Linked DNA regions of Homo sapiens: region 1 is linked to region 2. Evidence: promoter capture Hi-C in 16 types of primary human blood cells and fetal thymus (Javierre and others, 2016). All regions are on one chromosome and are shown on one strand. Each heading gives the region's core, a stretch centred on a gene start or on the middle of the fragment in contact. The rest is flanking DNA. Distances are from core to core; before and after follow the strand shown.

Region 1 (2,724 bases), core at 155-2,654, 530 kb before region 2:
AACCCGGTCTTATGTGAACTAACGGAGCGACAACTCATCACCAAGGGGATGGCACAAAATCATTCAGGAGGGACCCACCCCCATGACCCAAACACCTCCCACTGGGCCCCACCTCCAGCACTGGGGATCACAGTTAACCTGAGATTTGGAGGGGACACACATCCAAACCATGTCAGGCTCTAAGAGCTTTGTACCTTCTGGCAGTCAGAGGATTGACTAAGCAGCCCTTTGTGCTTGGGGCCATCCTACTCCTAGCACTGAGTCAAGGAAAGCATTTCCCAGCTGGACACGGTGGCCCATGCCTGTAGTCCCAGCGCTTTGGGAGGCCAAGGTGGGCTGATCACCCAAGGCCAGGAGTTCGAGACCAGCCTGGCCAACATGGCAAAACCCCATCTCTACTAAAAATACAAAAATTAGCCAGGCATGGTGGCAGGCACCTGTAATCCCAGATACTCAGGAGGCTGGGGCAAGAGAATCACTTGAACCCAGGAGGTGGAGGTTACAGTGAGCCGAGATCGCCCCACTGCCCTCCAGGCTGGTCAACAAGAGTGAAACTCCATCTCATTAAAAAAAAAAAAAAAAAAAAAGCATTTCCCTTCACAGTTTCCATTTCGTAGGTTTCTCCTACAAAGTTCCCTGTCCCCATCACCACAGGGAAGAGAGGGGAGGCCCAGACCACCTGTCCCAGGGCCCGGTTGACACACATGTCCCTGCTTTGCAGTGGCTGGTAGATGGAACCGAGATCCTGTCCGCCAGCTGGTGCCTTGGGGCAGAGACGGCCTTGCCATCCATGCTGCTCAGCCTGTTTTCGTCTTCAGGAAGGTTGAACTTCAGTAAGTCCGGAGTCTGACTCAGGTCCTTGATTTGATTTACAAACCTGGAAAGGATCTGGAATAAGTCCCACCCAGCTACTAACAGGCACAACTAGTCGTTAGTTGCTAAGGACCTACAGCAGGAGCGAGAGAGTGTGCGTGCGTGCGTGCGTGCGTGGGTGCTTGTGTGTGTGTGCCCATCTTCCCTAATGAGTGTACAGAAAGATGAAACAGATGAGCCCACTAGGGAGGTCCAGGAAGGCACCAAGTCAGTAGCAGAGGGCGGTGGCTCCCAAACCACAGCAGTGACCAACACGGGACATGGAGGTAAATCGGAGTGTGCAGGCTTTCTGTGGTGTGGCCTGGGAGGTGCCTCTGGCAAGTGGAGACGGGCAAATTGCCTGCAGGCGGGAGGGGTCGGGCAGCAGGCAGGTGCTGGCAAGAAGCGGACACAGGGAGAGACCCTGCAGCCTGGGTGAACGCGTGCTTTCGGGAGGGTGGGGCTGCAGCGAGACTGCAGGGCGAGGGTGGAAACACATCATGCTCCTGGTTCTTCCCTTCCTTGAGCTGTGAGCTTGGGCAGGCCGCTGGAGGCGTCAACGTCACCATTTGTAAAATAAAGACAGTGCCCGCTTCCCAGGGTTGGGGTAAGGCCCTTGTGGTGCCAAGAAAGGCCCCTGGGTGAGCCCTTGCCCTGTGCTAGTTGTTCTACCCATGCTTACCGAGCATGCACCAAGGGCAGACACATGCCAGGCAGGTGGGATACCTCCCAGAACAAAAAGAAGCCAGACCCCTGCCTCTGTGCACACTCGCATTCTCGCAGCAGCCGATGAACCATAAGCAACAAATGGGCTGAATAAGGAAATTATGGAAAATGATGTGGTATAGTAGGAGGTGTTGGGTGCCATGGATCTAAAAAAAAAAAAATAGAGCAGAGGGACAGAGGTTGTGACTGAAAAGGATGGTCAGAGGGCGCTTCCTGGGATGGTGGCATGTGAGCAGCCACTTCAACAAGGTGAGGGCAGAGAGTGCCTGGCAGAGGGGCAGCCGTGCAAAGGCCGGAGGCGGGGCATGCCTGGTGTCTTTGAGAGGCCAGCACACAGGATCAGGGGGAGTGAGGGAGAGCCAGAGCCCAGCACACAGGATCAGGGGAGTGAGGGGAGCGAGAGGCCGGCATACAGGATGTGGGGAGGGGGAAGGAGGGAGAGCGAGAGGTCAGCACACAGGATCAGGGGAGTGAGGGGAGCGAGTTGCTGAGGGCGGAGAGAAAGGGTGTGTCTTTCATGTTGGGCAGGCCAGGGTGAAAGCCTGGGCTTTTGAGATGTCTACAGAGGGTTTTGAGCCTAGAAGTCACGTGACTGCTGTGTGGCAGGACCCCTCTAGCTACTGTCTTAAGAATAAAGTGATCTGGGCGTGGTGGCGCGTCTGTAGTCCCAGCCACTTGGGTACTTGGGAGGCTGAGGCAGGTGGATTACTTGGAGCCTAGAAGTTGGAGACCAGCCTGGGAAACATAGGGAGACCGCATCTCTACAAAAAATTTAAACATTAGCCAGGTATGGTGGCACACATCTGTGATCCCAGCTCCTCAGGAAGCTGAGGTAGGAGGATTCCTTGAGCCAAGGAGTTCGGAGCAGTGGTGAGCCACGATCGCACCACTGCACTCCAGCCTGGGCGACAGAGCGAGACTCCGTCTCAAAAAAAAAAAAAAAAAAAAAAAGAATAAACTGAAAGGGGCCAAGTGTCCATGCAGGTTCCCAAGTGACCTTCCAGGAGGGTGGCTCTGGCTAGGTAGGTGGCAGTGTGGTGGTGAGAAGTGGTGGGATTCTGGATATACTTTGGAGGTTGATGGAGCCAACAGGATTCTCTGACAGATGAAATGTGGGAGACAAGAGAAAGATATTTGCTACTTTCA
Region 2 (2,707 bases), core at 83-2,582:
TAAACTGTTCCAGATGACAAGCAGGCTCTCCCACGTCTCCACGAACTGATCAGATACCAGGGCCTCGCTTCTTTGTGAGCCTCAGCTCCCTCCTTTCTGGGGAACCCTACTCGATCCCCAACAGCCGCTGGCCTCCAGCTGCCACAAACGAGATCCAGACTCATTACAGGGAATTCGTATTTCCCCCCCTCAAATAAAACACACACACACACACACACACACAGAGTCTCCGGGGTCCAGCCGGATCACACAGCTAAAGTTTCCGGAACTTGAATCGTAAAACCACAATCAGAAGTTGTTTGGAAATACTCGCCGCAAAGCAATCTGTCCTTTGCTTTAAAAAATAAAAAATAAAAAAAACTTTGCCCTGCATAAAGGCAGACAGTAAAGAGAGACACAAATCTAACTTGGGCAGAGGGTGTGTTCCTCTTTGTCACCCGCCGGGAACCCTCGCGCCGCGCGTGGGCGAGCGGCGGGCACCCGGCGGCATCCGCGCCAGCGGCCACCTCCCCGGCCCGCAACCGGCCTCAGGGGCCGAGATTGCGGCCCGAGGTCCGGAAGCGGCGTCCAGCGCTGTCAGCGGGCGGGTAGGACGGAAGGAAACGGGGGAAGGGCGCCGGGGTCGGGGGAGGCGAGCGGGGACCGGCGCGGAGCCCCGCAGCCCGACGTCGGCGGAGGTGAGGGGAGAGGGGCGCAGGGGGCAGCCCGGAGCCCCGAGGCCCCCGAGCTCCTGCGATGGTGGCCGGGGCTGCCCGGGCCCGACCCGCCGCCCGACTGCGCAGGGCAGGACCTCGGGGACCACGCGCCCACCTTCGCCCGCAGCCGCGGCCGTGCGCTGCGGGAGCCTGGACTCGCACAAGTTGCCGCCCGCGGCCCGGACCCCGCCGGCCCCCGCCCTCCCGCCGCGGTCATTGTTCACCGCGCGCCTCCTACCTCCACAGCGCCGGCGGCTGCGGCGGCTCCCTCTCCCGGCTCGGGCTCCGGGATCGGCGGCTCCCAAGCCCCCGGCGGCCGAGGGCGCGGCGGCGCCGGCTATTAATACCCGCGGGCGGCGGCGGCGCGGGCGCGCGAGCAGGGCTGGCGGTGGCCGGCTGAGGTCCGAGCCATCAAAGGTGGCGCGGGGCGGAGGGGAGGGCGGAGCAGGCGGGGTGGGTGGGGAGCGGGCTCCGGGTCGCCATGGCCGCCTCGACGCCGGGGCCAGCGCTACTCGCGCAGGGAGGAGCGGCGCAAAGCGGGCAGCGGCCGCGTCCCCGCCCCGCGCCCCAGCCGAGCGCCCGCACCGCTGCGCCCGCGCCGGACCCGCCGCCTCTGAGGCCGGCGAGCGGGAAGTGCAGTGGCCACCGCCCCTCCCCGGGTCTGGGCCGGCCCCTCGGCGGGGGGAGGCGGGCGCCGCGCAGCCCGAGCAGCGGGGACGCGGGAGAGCCACAGCCCCCTCCAGCGTCCGGGCCCGCGCCCTGCGCCCGCCCCGCCCCGCTCCGCTCCGCCCGGGCAGGTGCGCCCAGGGGCCTCCCGAGCCCAGCGCGCCGCCGGGGATCTGCGCCTCTCTTGGGCTTCCGGCCAGGGCCGGGCTCCGCGCGGCGCTACCTAATGCAGCGCGGGGAGCGCCACTGGCGAGACGCGAATCCAGCAGCTGTGGCGAAAAACGAACCGGGGAGAGCGGGAGACGTGTGCACGGCGAAGCCGGGAGCGGCAGGCGGGCGGTCAGGGGCTCGGACTCTGCAGGTCGCTTTTTGAGGTCCTGCCTGGGGCTGCTTCGCCTGCGACGTCGCGCGGGGAGGACAGTCTTCAGGGACCCACCGAGCCCTCCCCTCCCCCGGAGCCACAGGCACGGGCTTCCGGCACCACCCCGGGCTGCGCGGGACTTAAGCTTGGGGGAGCGGCGGCCACCCCGCGCCCGCCCACGTCCTGGCCCAGCGCCCTCCGCCCGAGCGAATCCCATGACAGTTCCCGCCCGCCCAGCCTCGGGGGACAGTGCCCTTGGGGAATGGCGTGGGGGAGGTTAGGAGTGGCTTGCGGTGCTTGAGAGCCTTCGGGGTTTCGGGAACTCTACGGAGCGGGGAGCAAGATTCAGGACCCAGGAGGCAGCGATCTAGGGGCACAGTCACCGTCCCCACCCAGCAGCTGCCGCGTTACCTTCTCTTCCCCCTTCTGAGCCTCCAGTCCCTCTCTCTAAGCGTGGCGGGAAGAGGCCTAGGGCGCAGCAAGTGACGTTCTGCCAGACCCGGGGCTAGCGGATTCCGGCCTTCGGAGGCCACTGGCTCAGAACCGTGGGCCTTTTGCGTCTTACAGGAGTTCCCTGACCTCAGACCGAGAGGGCAGATTTCACGGGAGAGGCCTCAAGTGAACTCACAGCTGGACAGGAGCTGGGCAGAAGTGGAGTGTAGGGACCCTGATAGAAGGGCGGGTTGAGACAAGAACAGGGGTCTTGGAAGTAGGGGGTGCTTGTGGGCAGCTCCTGGGGAGGAGCAGAGATGTAATACTTGCAGATTTGGTGGTCTGTGGTTGAAGAGAAGAAATGGTGGGTTTGAGGCTTTGCTCTGTCAGCCCAACCAGCTGTGTGTCACAGATCAGATTTTTTTCTGCTCGTGATTCTCTAAGTGTGGTTCTCAGACCACGACCACCACCAGCAGCCCCTGGAAACGTCAAGAAATGAACATTCTTGGGCCGCATCCCCGACCTACCTAATGAAACCTTAGCAAGCATCTGA

What was found. The method cuts DNA at HindIII sites, captures the fragments that hold promoters and counts their contacts. A CHiCAGO score of 5 or more calls a contact.
Region 1: a contact is called between a fragment that was not itself captured here and the fragment with the promoter of FARP1 in region 2, in 1 of 17 cell types (M0 macrophages). The highest score is 5.7, in M0 macrophages.

The regions. Positions count from the first base shown.
Region 1 is chr13:98,674,603-98,677,326 of GRCh38, reverse strand. No RefSeq gene overlaps it. Among named protein-coding and RNA genes, the nearest start is that of SLC15A1, 77 kb to the left of the region's middle. The HindIII fragment of the contact is 2,989 bases long and covers 1-2,724 here.
Region 2 is chr13:98,141,719-98,144,425 of GRCh38, reverse strand. FARP1 (FERM, ARH/RhoGEF and pleckstrin domain protein 1) reads right to left here and starts at 1,332. Exons shown (of 27, transcript NM_005766.4): 1 at 934-1,332. LOC105370328 (a long non-coding RNA gene) reads left to right here and starts at 516. Exons shown (of 3, transcript XR_931670.4): 1 at 516-587. RefSeq lists silencers at 1,282-1,591, 1,832-1,881. The HindIII fragment of the contact is 2,199 bases long and covers 1-1,869 here.